Regions from separate parts of the Homo sapiens genome. Here all the other regions are linked to region 4. Evidence: promoter capture Hi-C in 16 types of primary human blood cells and fetal thymus (Javierre and others, 2016). All regions are on one chromosome and are shown on one strand. Each heading gives the region's core, a stretch centred on a gene start or on the middle of the fragment in contact. The rest is flanking DNA. Distances are from core to core; before and after follow the strand shown.

Region 1 (2,700 bases), core at 186-2,685, 3.0 Mb after region 4:
GACAGGGTAATTCAAGTTGTTTGATAAATTTATTACTATATTGTAAGAGAGATCTTTGACCATTTTTCTTCCTTTTTCTTGGACATCACTTTCTTCCCTCCCCTTCTCTCTTTTATGTTTTTATCCTTGTTAAATTTTATGTTTACGTTACCATCTTTCTTATACTTTCCCCTGATTTTTCTCTTTTAATTCCTCTTTCATTCTCTGCCTCTTCTCTTTCAGCTCTTTCTCTAATTGTGCCTATTCCTTGTTCATAAGAAGTGGAGCTGTTAGTGGTAGAACCACTGCTCATGGTTCTACCACTACAAAGTGGAAAGTAGAAATACTTTGCACTTTGGCCACTGTTGCGTTTTTGCCAAGGTAAAGTTCCCCTGCCATTTTGAAATAGCTGAACAAGTTAAAGTAATATGTTCCAAAAACTGGAAGTGCCATAAAAAACTAAAAATAAAAAAAAATTGTGACTATAACTCCTACTGTCTTTATGAATACACGGGATTCAGCAGCCAAGATGCTCACAAAATGGGATTGCTATAAATATGATGGATTCAGCACCTAAATTTGGAATAATCATGTCTTTTCTGTTATGTGGGTAGAGAGATTATATATCTTTTCTCAAAGTAAAGTATTTAAAACCTGTTTAAATGAGGGTTTTGGCTGGCGTGGTGGCCCACACCTGTAATCCCAGCACTTTGGGAAGCCAAGGTGGGAGTATCACTTGAGGCCAGGAGTTTGAGACTAGCCTAGACAACATAGCAAGATCCTATCTCTAGTTCAAAAAAATATTTTTAATTAGGGTTTTGGTTTTTTATGATTTTGGGGGGTGGGGGAGATATTTGTTTTTTTGAGGCAGACGTTTAAACTTTTAGATTTATCCCATCTTAATATTGATTTATATTGACACTGCCTACTTACAAGAATAATTTGAGGCAGCATATTGCCCATGTATTTCAACTATTTTCATTTTTCTGTTGCAAAGCAGTCTTTGATGGAAGACCCGGAATCTTATAGTTCTCATATCTGAGTCTTTCTGGAGTGTATTTGGTGTCTGTGTGATTGGTTCACCCAGAGGTCACCCAGAGGTCAATTGAAACCTTCCTAATTGTACTATGGTATTGATTCTATCCCCTCAAGTATGAAAAAATTAAATTTTCAGACCATTTTCAGTTGCTGCGAATGTAGTTACACTAAGTTTTATTTTAAACTAAAATTCAATAAACAGTGCAGCCAGGGAAGATCTGCTAAACCATGCCGTTATTTGGAAAATCATTGCAATATATTAACAACTGCTTCCTTCTATGATGTTTACTAGATGGAGAAAAATACTCCATACCTATATTGCAATTTTATTTTTATCTAGAAAAAGAAAATATTAGGCTTCAGACCCAACTGTGCAAATTTCATTTGCTTTCCATCTCTTACTACTACCTCTGTGTCATAATTTAACACGTAACATACAACTCCTGTCTCTTAAGGCAGCTACCATATGGTGTTTATGTCAGACTGGATATATTTATCTAATTTTGTGAAATTATTTTTTAGTTCCCAACACAATTCTTGAAAGTAATACCACTGTTGTTACTCTTTCTCCTTACAATTTTTATGTTGTTGAGATGTATCAGTTATGTATTATAATCATGAAATTGTATTGGCCTCAAACCCAAATTTTCTTTGTAGTCTAGGATAGATTTTTCATGAAAGCTATATAGTTATAACTGTGATTGTACAGATTGTTTATTTGTTTTACAGCTAACATTAAGCATGATTCCAGGTTTTTAATTATGTTCCAGCAACACTAGTGTTTCTTTATAACTTAAAATCATAACCACTTTGATAATTTACCTTTGGATCTGACCAGTGATTCATTTTTTTCTTGAATATACTTTGTGTTTGCTTTCTCATCCCCGTTAAGTCTGAAACATTATTGACACCCCACATCACTTACTCTGTTTAAAGACTTTACGAGTAGTGAGTCACATGTTTAGGATGATCACTTTGGGAAAAAAAAAATTATAGAGTAAAGGGGAAATGTTCTTGAGAGCTTTATTAAAACCATTAATATATAAAATGAAAAAATAATAAACAGAAGACACGAAGTGTCTCTCAATAGTTTAGAAAGAAAGATTTGGAACTTTAAGTAAAAATGCTAGGTCAAGTAAAAATCCTGATGTAGATTAGATTATCTTAATCTTATGAGCATTTTTTTTTAATTTGGTGAAGCTGTTTTGAAACTGCCTGTCCATATCAATGCCAGACTATCTCTCTACCTCTCAAAGAAAATAATTTGCATTAAAATTCCTTTTTTTGTTATGTAATGAAAGTATAAAACAAGAATTTGTACGTTACTCAGTGTGTACTGCAGTCAGATATAGTTAAAATAATTTTTCTGATGCGTAATTTTAACCACCATTTCTGGAGTACCTAGTATGTGCAGGCCAAGGCTTTGCCTATATTATTCCCTTTAATCCTCAAAGTAGCCTTGCAAAGAAGTTATTTTCATTTTACAGAAGAGTCAAGGATTAGGGGGTTGAAGTGAGCTGCCTAGAGTCACATACCTAAAGTCCAGGTGGATCACTATGTCTTGCTTTTTCAAAAGCAGTTCTTTCTACTACAGTACAATAGTTTCATGTTTTACAGTCCATTAAAATCCAAGACTTATAAAATAAACTAAAAATACTCTTGAGGCAATTACTATTTCTATGA
Region 2 (2,700 bases), core at 8-2,507, 3.0 Mb after region 4:
TGACCCTTGACCTGTTTTTGTCCATCATCACTCAGATTTGTGGCTGCAACCACCAACCAATTTGGTGCCATAGGATATAGCATAATTTTTCAGCAACAGTTCATAAGCTTTTCTTTTTGTTCTTTTTCCTTCTTCCAGTTGTGGTGGTTTAAAAACATGTCTGCAAAATCTTTGACACTTCTCAGTAAAAAATATAGTCTTGTGTTCCCTTTTCTTGAACCTAAGTGGCCTTTGTGCTGCCTCAACAAATAGAATATGACAGAAAAGACACTATGTGACTTTTGAGACAGGGTCATAAGAGGTGATACAGCTTCCCCATGCCCCTGCATTTTAGAGCTCTGGGTTGCCATGTAAGAATAGCTACCCTGAAGCTACCATGCTGAAGAGACCACAGGGAAATCACATAGAGTTAGAAAGAGGTGTCTGAAGAAGCCCAGCTGCTCCCAATCCCAGCTATTTAAGTCCTCCCAGACCAGGTGCCATATATATGAGTGAGCAAGCCTTCAGATGGTTCCAGCACCAGCCACCATCTAGCTGTAAGCTCATGAGACCCCTTCAACGAAAACCATCTAGATTAGCTTAGTCAAGCCCCAGAACCGTGAAAGACAATAGACTTGCTATGGAGGTCGCCACATGCCTCTTTTTTCTCCCTTTGTGAATGGGATTATTTATAATGGTTACCCCATACCTACTCCACTATGTATATTGGGTATGAGGGAGAGATAATTTGTCTCACTAGCTGACAGATTTTTCAGACCTCAAGGAATGCCACGTGAGCTGTACTCACAGGACCACACACAAGTATCTTTATCCACACGTGACCTGATTTCACTGATAAAGTCCTGGACCTTGAGCCTGAGCCCAATGTCTTAATAAATGAGAATTTCAGAAGGTCTTGGGAGGGGGTGAGTATATTTTGCATGTGGGAAGGATGTAAATAATATGTGGCCTGAGAGCAGATTATGGTGGTTTGAAAATGTGTCCACCAATTCTTTAATACTACTCTCAACAAGAGGTGGAATCTGTGTCTCTTCCTTTGGAACATGAGTGGACCTTTGTGATTAAATGCAGCAGAAGGATGCTGTGTGAACTCTGAGACAGGGTAATAAGGGGTGATACAGCTGCCACCTAGTTCTTTCTCAGAACATGTGCCTTTGGAGCCCTGAGCTGCCATGGAAGAAAACCACCTACCCTGAAGCCACAACACTGGAAAGACCATGTGGAAGAACCACAGAGAGAGAGAAGAGGACCAAATGTGTGAGCCTTCCCAGCCCAGGCTCCAAATATGCAAGTAGTAAGCCTTCATTTCTTTTTGGTTTTAATTTTTTTTTTTAAATAAATCGAAATGGGTTCTCACTATGTTGCCCAGGCTGGTCTTGAACTCCTAAGCTCAAGTAATCCTCCTACCTCAGTCTCCCAAAGTGCTGGAATTGTAGGCATGAGCCACCATGCCCGGCTGCAATTAGTAAGTCTTCAGATGCTTCCATCACCAGCCACCATCCGATGACAACCCCATGAATGACCCTCAGCAAGAACTACCTAGCTGAATCCAGCCAAACTCCAGACCCATGAGAGAGAAATAAAATTGTTGTTTGAGTCACTAAATACGGAGTAATTTATATTATCAACAGATAACTGGAACCACAAGTGTAATTGTTAAAGGTAAAACTTTGAATACATTTATATTTGCCTTCTGCCACATTCCATAATTGACTTTTGTTCATGAACCTATTGGCAAGTTTGCCTTATTGCTTTTCCTTCTTCCCTCTTTTTTTTTTTTGTAACTTAAAAAATCATATAATAAAACAACACAAAAATGTATTTGAATGTAGGTTGAGTGACCGTAAATAAGCACAAAACTTCTCCTTCCTGTGACTCTCTTGTCTGTATATGCCAAGTATCTAACACAAGGCCTGCCTGGCACATAATTTTTTTTTTTAAATGTTAGTCTCTTTTATCATTCTTTTTCCCTGTCAGTGGTATTATCTTTACCCATGGAATCCAGCACCCTCATGCTGACTTATAGTTCCCCAAAGTCCCTAACCTCTACAGTCCTCTCCAACCCCCACCCCAGGCCTCTCTCTATGTTCCAGACATTTTCTGGCTTTTTACCATTATCCAAACTCTGAACTTATCTACTTAGTTTTTATAAAAAAACACAGAGTGACTACATAGCTAATATAAATAATGCCAGTGTTAACACAAAAATTTGACTTGAATGATTACAATAGCAAACTTCAATGTTTACCCCATGGAATAGGCAGAAAATTTCAAGCACTTTTCTAGGCCACCTGAGTCTATTTTGAGTAAGGATCCTTAAGTTGATACTCAAGTAATGACATTGATGCAATGTAGAAGACTATGCTAAAATTTGTCCTGGCTTCTCTCCATGCTATGGGCCATCTGTAAAGCTTTGGAGTCTAGGTCAGATGTATGCGTTGTCTCCTCTTTGCTACCATTTTTGTACAGATTTCTAATCTAAATAAAATTAATGGCAATAACAGTGTGGAAAGGGAAAGCCTAAAAGAAAGAGGGTTTTTGAAGAGTGGGGGACCAGAAAAGAAGAGGACAATTTTACCTGAATTGTTTTACTTTAGAAAATAAATTTGTTCATGTGATTCTGTGAGTCAATTTACACATGTATATAAATACACATTTCTTTATTTAACCATTATTATTATCACTATGTGATCCCTCAAT
Region 3 (2,700 bases), core at 99-2,598, 4.2 Mb after region 4:
CCTATTCAAGATGACATCAACTGCATATTAGTTTTACCTTGTATGCATTTCTCAATAGTAAAACCATTAGTCAGTAGCATCTGAATGTACATTGATACAGTGGGTGTTTTGTGGTAATTATAAGGTAATTACTTCCTATCCTTAAATAATTGTCATTTCCACAAACAAACAAAATAGGATAAACAACAATACAGCATACATAAAACAACTGCCATCTCCCTAAGACACCAGAATAGCCTGTTAATCAAGGAAAGCTAAATTTATTAAATCTACTACAGTAAGGGAGGCCACACTTTGACAGAAGCTTGGCAGTCTCAGAAGGAGAAGGTTGGGGGTGATATTTATAGGATTTGGGGAGTCTGAGCAAAAATGGTTTAAAACAGGTCTTTTGAGGCAGGGAACTGTTTGGGGGATTGGGTAAAGTGTTTGACCTAATAGTTTAGGGTCGGTGCTAGAGTGACCAATTTTACTGATTTCCTAGGACTTTCTCAATTTTAGCACTAAAAATCCTCCAACTGGAGAATCCTTACAGTCCTGGGCAAACTGGGACCATTGGTCACCCTAATTAGCAGACATACCGTCGCAAGACTGCTGGGTAATTTGAACAGTAGTACCAGAGCAACTGACAAAACATTGTAGCCCATCTTCCCAAGGCTGGATACAAAGTTTTCTGAAGCATTCACATTTACAGCCTCTATTTGACAAAATACTGCATGCCTATGTGCGTTCAACTCACATAATAATGAAACTTAACTTTAAAAATGTTTTTATTGCAGTAAGGTATATAAAACATGAATTCGACAGTTTAACTATTTCTATGCATACAAGTGAGTGGTATTAATTACATTCACAATGTTAAGCGACCATCATCACTTAATTTTTTTAAAGGACGTTTATATTCACTCATCTATCAACGTAGTAGGCACTGTCCTAGGCGCTAGGGATTCCATGCAGAGCAAAAAACGTCACAGTCCATGCCTTCACATGGCCTTCATGGACCACCGCGGGTGTTCTTTTTCCCCCGAGTCTTTATGTACTTGGGAAAAGTGGCCAGGGTTGAAAGGTGCAATGAGTACACGGCAGAGGTCAGAGAGGTTCCCACTCAGCCCGGCGTCTGGAAGCAGCGTGGGGTAGGGGCCGCTCCAGTACCCCCTCCTCCAGTGTCGAAGGTGGGCAGGCCCTCGGCCGGGTGGATGAGCCGCGACTGGAGGGGGCGGGGCCTGGGCGGGAGGCGGGCGGTGGGCGTGTCCGGGGCGGGGCTGTACCGGGCGCTGGGCGGAGGAGCCTTGGCTGGGGACTGCCTGGAAACGGGCTGGGCCTGCCTCGGACGCCGCCGGTGTCGCGGATTCTCTTTCCGCCCGCTCCATGGCGGTGGATGCCTGACTGGAAGCCCGAGTGGGATGCGGCTGACGCGGAAGCGGCTCTGCTCGTTTCTTATCGCCCTGTACTGCCTATTCTCCCTCTACGCTGCCTACCACGTCTTCTTCGGGCGCCGCCGCCAGGCGCCGGCCGGGTCCCCGCGGGGCCTCAGGAAGGGGGCGGCCCCCGCGCGGGAGAGACGCGGCCGAGGTAGGACTGGGTCGGCGGCTTCCTTCCGGCTCTGCGCTCCTGGCTGGGGCTGCTGGGCGGCTGGGGCCGGGTCCCCGCACCCGGCTCTCAAGTCCGGGATTACCCGCAGGGCCTGAGAAGCGCTTTGCCCCCTACAGCCTCTCGAGCCAGCCCTTGGCTCGGAATTGGAGAATGGTCCTCATTCTTACCCAGATCTCACACGCCGTCCCCGCTCCCGATCCCAGGGGGTGACAGGCGCGCACGCCTTTCAAACACGTGTTAAAATCCAAGACGTCGTCTCAAATGCCAGAGATTTGCGGGAATGCTCCTGGAAGGCCTCAAAATCGCCGCAAGGTTTAAGACATCCGTTTCCATGTTGAAACAAAGCCCTCTCTAATCCTGCAGTGACCATAAGGCAGACTTTACCTCCAAATTCTGGTCCCCTGTCCTGTGTTTTAACTTGTGTTAAGATCAGACTCGGCTTTCTCTTTCCCTTTATTCAGAATTTTGCACGATAGTATCTAAGACTGGTGAACACTACACTCTGAAGTCAGTTTTTTGTGCATAGGTTACCTGTATACAATGGATAAAAATAATTGCAAAAGTTAAGCTTGTAACTTGATACATATTATCCTGTTATTTTTAAAGGTTTTGTGTTGGGGAAGAGAATTTTCCTGTCTCAAGGTAGCATTTTATTTCTAAGACTTTTCAGAGTAAAAAAAGTTCAGTAAAAAAATTGCTGATTTTCTTTTTTGTTTTCATTGTGTATTACCAGTTTAAATTCAGTTGCTGTACCTCTCAGAAATTAAAGTTAGGATGAAATTAGAACTAACACTTAATTTAAATGATTTGAATTTACCTACAACTGCAATAATACCTTACTGGTAAACACTTACTCTTTTTAAAACAGAACAGTCCACTTTGGAAAGTGAAGAATGGAATCCTTGGGAAGGAGATGAAAAAAATGAGCAACAACACAGATTTAAAACTAGCCTTCAAATATTAGATAAATCCACGAAAGGAAAAACAGATCTCAGTGTACAAATCTGGGGCAAAGCTGCCATTGGTAAGTTAATACGTAGAAGGAAGACATGTAAAAAGCATTATAAAATGTATTTTATTGATATGAAATTCATTTTAATATAATTTATT
Region 4 (2,700 bases), core at 15-2,514:
ATTTAAGCATTTTTAGCTTAAAAATATAAAATCCTTTCTGTAATTTTCTGCCTTTTTTTCATTTTCAAATATCATTCTTTCAATAAAATTATCTTCCAGTAATTTTGATGTTATTAATCACGATTATTTTTTCATCTTGTATTATGCCTACCAGCCACTTCATGTATATTATTTCACTTAAATCTTATGAAATCAACACGATTGATATTACTTTTATTTCATAGCTACAGAAATTGAAATTCAAATTTCGTCCATTACAACAGACTAGCTGTGGCAAAGACAATGTGAATTTACCCAAATGACTTAACTCTTTTTATAAATTCGTAAAATGTGAAGAATCATAGAACACACCTTAAAATGATTGTGAAATCAAGGAGGAGAAAGCTAGCTAAACTGGTAGACAAACTGCAATAGGACTTGTCAAGCCAAAACCTACAATTATTCTTTTGGATAGTTTCTTTTTCTCTAAAGTGGCAATTTAACTTAAAGATATTAAAGAAACCCAATCTATGGGGTTACTTAAATGTTCTCTTCCAGCCCTTCCTCTTTCCAGTTTTACCAAGAAGCACATTTTAGACAGGGGAAGAGACCAAACCAATGACAGCAGAATTACCATTATCTCTAGCACTATTCGTTGTCAAATAACTAAATGCTGGTTTGAAGAACTAAGTAATTTGAGAAATTAAAAATGAAAGGAATTATAAATGATTTGAAAAAAAATCCTTCTTATTTTTAATGTTTTTTGGTGCTGTTTTCTATGTCCTTCCTCCTATGGTGTCAATTATATTTTTTTCCGTGAAGTGATTTGGTTGGTGAGTCTAATCTCCAACAGTGCCCTACCTCTTTCTCCCAAAAAGGCCTCAGTTGAAAAATGGCTCAACACTTTCCCTGCAAGCTCACAATGAGGATCTCCTATTCTCCCTGCATTCGGCCAGACTCTTCTTTTTTTGCATGCTTTCCTCTCCCATGCTTGGGTTGCACAGAGCTACCGCACATCTGTCTTCTAGGTCAGGCTACAGAGTACTTCGGATACAGCAAGTTACGACCCATCTGGAAAGACAGATCTACCTGCCTTTTGGCTTTCTTCCTTGGTCAAAACTAAAATCCGAAGTGGAGTGCCCCGAGCGATAGAGAAAGTGCCTATAGCTTTGACAGCCGCTTGGAGCATGCTCAGTCGGTCTCCAGGCACCGGGAGGCGGCTCCCCCCCACCACCCCCCGGGCCGGCCTCCACCGCAGCCTGTCCGGCCCCCACCCCTGGCGCGCGCTCCTCCGCACCCACAAGGGCGTTCAGCAGCCGCGCCTCCCCTTCCCGCCACCGCCTCCTTCTCCGCTGGCTGTGGCGGGCGAGGACACGTCAGGGGCCATAAATAAATAAATAATTCCATTCACCCGTTGACAGCGAGGCGAATCGGCTGCGGTTTGCTGGGAACGGAGGGCTGCAGCGCCCACCCTGCGCCAGAGACCAGATAAAGTAAGTACAGCTGGGGAGGGAGGGGAGAGGAGGAGGAGGAGGAGGAGGTGCCGGCTAAGAGGAGGGCGAGCCTGCGTCTGCGACCCGAGCTGCCCGCGGAGCCGCACGCGTGTGTGCAAATAATGGCCAGCCTGTGACAAACGTGCCAACGCAGAGTTGGCCAGCGAGCCCTTATATAGACAAAAAAATCCCGAAGCGGCCGCGGGAGCAGAGCTCGCGTCAGCCAGTGCGCGCCGACAGCTGCCCGGGAACTGAGGGGGCGCGCGGGGTCCTGGGCAAGGAGCGCCTCGCGTGCTTTCGGCCAGGAGGTGCTCACGCTCTCGGCTTTTACACCGAGACTCAGCGTGGCGCGGTGCACCCCAGTCTCCCTGGCTCACGGGACTCCGAGGGCTGCTTCCAGTGCGGCGTGTCTCTAGTGCGCGCCCCGCCAGCATCCGGCCCCCGAGCCCCCTAGGGTGGCGTGGCTTCATTGCCGCAGAAGGTGGAGGCGGGGGTGGAGTGTGTGGAGAGAACGTCTTCTCTTTGAGCAGATGATCAGGACAGGAAGAGGCTGTGAGGGGAAGACGAAATACCGGGGGATGGGGGGGTTGTCTTTCTTCATTTTTGGTCCCCAGGAAGGATGGCAGGGGTGGAAGCAGATGGAAAACTATATGCGGGCGAGGCCTGAGCCCAGGCAGAAAGGGACCTCTGACTTGGCAAGGGTTCAGGAGGGCCTGAGCCTTCTGGTCTTGCTGGGCCACTGCACCACATTGGGGGCGCCAGGCCCGGTCAGGTGGCGCCACAGGCTGCGAGCCCGCTCACGTGCGAACTGCCTGTTTTCTCAGCGGATGCTGCATCGCGGCGCCCTTCTCCACCCCCTTTTCTCCTCTACTTCCGCGAAAAGGATTGCAGACTGCCTTGGAAAGGGCGGTCGTGCCCAGTGCCACTTTCCCGGTAGGGCTGAGGAGGGACTTCTGTAGTTCCAATTCCAGGGAAATTAAAATTTTACACACACACACACACACACACACACACACACACACACACACACACACGAGACATAGAAGAGGAAACGAGGAGTGGTTTCTCTACAATTGTTTTTTGATTTCCTTTCCTGTATTATTTCGTGTCCTCCTTCCCTCTTGGGTCCCAAAGGAGATGCGGCAGAGGAATAAAATAGCGGACAATGATGAAAGTGATGGGAAAAAGACTGGACCCAGAGGAAAGAGTGACTACTGGATGCCATTTC
Region 5 (2,700 bases), core at 43-2,542, 4.8 Mb after region 4:
AGCCACTAGCCTGACATTTTAAACACATAAATTAGAAACATGATGCAAGAGTGATTCAAGGTATTTTATATAGGAAATGCCTGGTGTAGTGTCTTGGACAGCTAAATAAAGGTAGCTGTTAAAACATTAGTTTTATTCTATGCTCTTACCATTCCTCCCTCTCCAAGTTTTGTTTGTAGTCTGTGGCAGCAACCTAGTCTGTATTTAGTACACATTGAATAATCAACAATGAAATGTAAATATTGAGCACATTGTGTGTCAAACACATGTATTAACTCAAACCTCACAGAAACCCTTTGAGGTCGGTACTATTAACAATCCCCATTTTACATACGAGTAAACTGAAGCATGGATAGACTAAAGTAAAGTGCCTGAGGTCAACTAGTGAGGAGGCGGAGTGGCAGTCAAGTCGAGGCAGCCTAAGCCTACACTGCCTCTATGTTGCATTAATAAATTAATAAATCTGTGACCAAATAAATGAAGTGACATTTAGTAGCATCGAAAGATCCCGTGAGTAGGACTTCCTAAGAATGCTCTCCTTCTTTTCATGGACAAAATTTTAGTCTGTTTAAAATAAATTTTGGACCGGACACCGTGGCTCACGCCTGTAATCCCAGTACTTTGGGAGGCCGAGGCAGGTGATCACTTGAGGTCAGGAGTTCGAGATCAGCCTGTCCAACATGGTGCAACCCTGTCTCTACGAAAAATACAAAAATTAGCTGGGTATGGTGGCGCGCGCCTGTCATCCCAGCTACTCAGGAGGCTGATGCAGGAGAACTGCTTGAACCCCGGAGGCGGAGGTTGCAGTGAGCCAAGATCTCGCCATTGCACCCCATCCTGGGCGACAGAGCGAGACTCCGTCTCAAAGAATAAATAAATAAATTAATTAATTAATTTTGAAAACCTGTCAGCACTCATCAGAGCTTTACACTGCTGTACTCGGGACACTTGGGGCCGTAGACAAGCAATTAAATTGACTCACACGTGGTTAGAACCACGTCATCCTGATTCGTGAATCCGTACTCTCAACTACTAGAAGCCCTTTGTGGAATGCTCGGGGCGAACCTGACGCTTGAGCTCTGACACCACGCAGACACAGCCGGGGATTTAGGAGCTGGGTAGGGACTCCTGGGCCGGATGCCTCATCCCGGCATGCACCTCAAGCCCCGGTGACCACGCCTTCCGGCGAGCGCCAGGGAGCGCGTGTGCGCCTCGCCGCCCGGAAGCGCCGGCCGCTCCCTGCATGCTGGGAGTTGTAGGCCTCCGGCGTCAGCCCGCGGGCTGCCGCCCGCACTCTCCAAGAGACTGCTGGCGCCGGCGCCCGCCCGCGCGGCACCGACGCGGGGAGCGCGCTTCGCGCTGACTCAGCGGCGGCGGCGGCTGCGGCGGCGGCGGCGGCGTTAGCCGGCCCTCGCGCTCTTTCCCTTCCTGGGGCGCCGACCCCGCCCGCTTGCTTGCTTGCTTGCTTGCCTGCCTGCCTGCCTGCCCGGCGCCACGCAAGAGAAGGTGCCAGGGGACGCAGAGCGACTAGAGGCGCGCGGTCCCGGCCAGCACCGTCTCTGGCGTTGTAGCTGCGGCCGTGGCGGAGGACTACGGCGACAAGGACGAGGGCCGCTCTCCCAGCTCTCTGCGTGCCGCGCCGCTCCGCTCCGCTGGCTGACCATCTGGAGTGCAGGCTGGGAGGCGGGATGGAGTGATAGGGAAGGTGACTCGGGGCTCGGGGGCAGCGGGACCGGGACCAGGTTTGGTCCGCGTGAGGCTTCGAGGAAGTTGGCCGGGGCGGACCGGCCCGGGGGAGTCCCGACGCCAGGGAGGGTGCAGGCTTGGGACCCTCTATGGCGGTGCACCCCCTGGCTGGGCGGACCGGGTGGGGGTGGGTACGAGCCGGGGCCGCCGCCGAGGAGCGCGTCCCGAGTGCGTGGCCGGCGGTTGCTTGGTGTTTCATCACCCGAATTGCCACGAGGCTTCCTTTAGGGGAGGGATCGGGGGAGGGATGGGAGCAAGGCTAGCAGAGGAGGGTCGGCATCGCCTGTGGTTCCGAAGCCCGTTAGTCATCGTTGTAGCGTTATCAACTGTGGAGACCTCAAACTTGATTCTTCCCCCACCCCTGGACAAAAAGGAAAAGTGTTATTTCTGTGCAGTAATTGGCCAGCACGGACGCTCCATTTCTTCTCAAACCTTCCTCACCATCCTGCAGGACTAGAGAAGCATGAGGTTTCCCTGTAACCAGAAAAACGAGTACTTTTTGAAAGTGCTAATTAGTTGTGGCGGGCGGGGGTTGGGGGAGAGTTACGTTTTATTAAACCGACTTGTCAGCGTGGTGTTAAAAGGCTGGAAAGATTCAGTCGTAGTATTTGAAACAGTCTTCAGTAGGTGTAGAGGAATTTTTCCAAATTGTTTGATTCTTAATGGCTATCCAGGAAAAGTTAAGGCTTAATATTTTAAGTATGTTGCTTGCCTTCCCCCAAGAACCTTTGCAAGATGCATAATTGTTTACCGTATTGAAACATTTTTTGGGGTTTTGTTGTTGTTGTTTTGAGACGGAGTCTCGCTCGGTCGCCCAGGCTGCAGTGCAGTGGTGCCATCTCGGCTCACTGCAACCTCTGCCTCCCAGGTTCAAGTGATTCTGCAGCCTCAGCCTCCCGAGTAGCTCTATTACAGGTGCGCCCCGCCACACCTGGCTACTTTTTGTATTTTTCG

The links. The method cuts DNA at HindIII sites, captures the fragments that hold promoters and counts their contacts. A CHiCAGO score of 5 or more calls a contact.
Region 1: a fragment that was not itself captured here is called in contact with the fragment with the promoter of SLC16A7 in region 4 in 1 of 17 cell types (naive CD8 T cells); the score reaches 7.3 in naive CD8 T cells.
Region 2: a fragment that was not itself captured here is called in contact with the fragment with the promoter of SLC16A7 in region 4 in 1 of 17 cell types (non-activated CD4 T cells); the score reaches 5.1 in non-activated CD4 T cells.
Region 3: the fragment with the promoter of RXYLT1 here is called in contact with the fragment with the promoter of SLC16A7 in region 4 in 3 of 17 cell types (non-activated CD4 T cells, total CD8 T cells and naive CD8 T cells); the score reaches 10.5 in non-activated CD4 T cells.
Region 5: the fragment with the promoter of XPOT here is called in contact with the fragment with the promoter of SLC16A7 in region 4 in 1 of 17 cell types (activated CD4 T cells); the score reaches 5.1 in activated CD4 T cells.

What each region holds. Positions count from the first base shown.
Region 1 is chr12:62,597,120-62,599,819 of GRCh38, forward strand. It overlaps MON2 (MON2 regulator of endosome-to-Golgi trafficking), which reads left to right. Exons shown (of 35, transcript NM_015026.3): 35 at 1-2,700. Among named protein-coding and RNA genes, the nearest start is that of MIRLET7IHG, 4.3 kb to the right of the region's middle. The HindIII fragment of the contact is 7,638 bases long and covers 1-2,700 here.
Region 2 is chr12:62,615,093-62,617,792 of GRCh38, forward strand. MIRLET7IHG (MIRLET7I host gene) reads left to right here. Exons shown (of 2, transcript NR_186001.1): 2 at 1-2,700. Among named protein-coding and RNA genes, the nearest start is that of MIRLET7I, 13 kb to the left of the region's middle. The HindIII fragment of the contact is 2,304 bases long and covers 106-2,409 here.
Region 3 is chr12:63,778,561-63,781,260 of GRCh38, forward strand. It overlaps RXYLT1 (ribitol xylosyltransferase 1), which reads left to right and starts at 1,349. Exons shown (of 6, transcript NM_014254.3): 1 at 1,349-1,569; 2 at 2,459-2,614. The coding sequence starts at 1,401. RefSeq lists silencers at 1,168-1,397, 1,414-1,689, 1,418-1,717. The HindIII fragment of the contact is 1,854 bases long and covers 303-2,156 here.
Region 4 is chr12:59,594,765-59,597,464 of GRCh38, forward strand. It overlaps SLC16A7 (solute carrier family 16 member 7), which reads left to right and starts at 1,265. Exons shown (of 6, transcript NM_001270623.2): 1 at 1,265-1,472. RefSeq lists a silencer at 1,194-1,263 and enhancers at 1,734-1,873, 1,924-2,073. The HindIII fragment of the contact is 11,642 bases long and covers 1-2,700 here.
Region 5 is chr12:64,403,100-64,405,799 of GRCh38, forward strand. XPOT (exportin for tRNA) reads left to right here and starts at 1,293. Exons shown (of 25, transcript NM_007235.6): 1 at 1,293-1,705. RefSeq lists enhancers at 868-917, 2,015-2,700 and silencers at 1,308-1,467, 1,798-1,907. The HindIII fragment of the contact is 10,073 bases long and covers 1-2,700 here.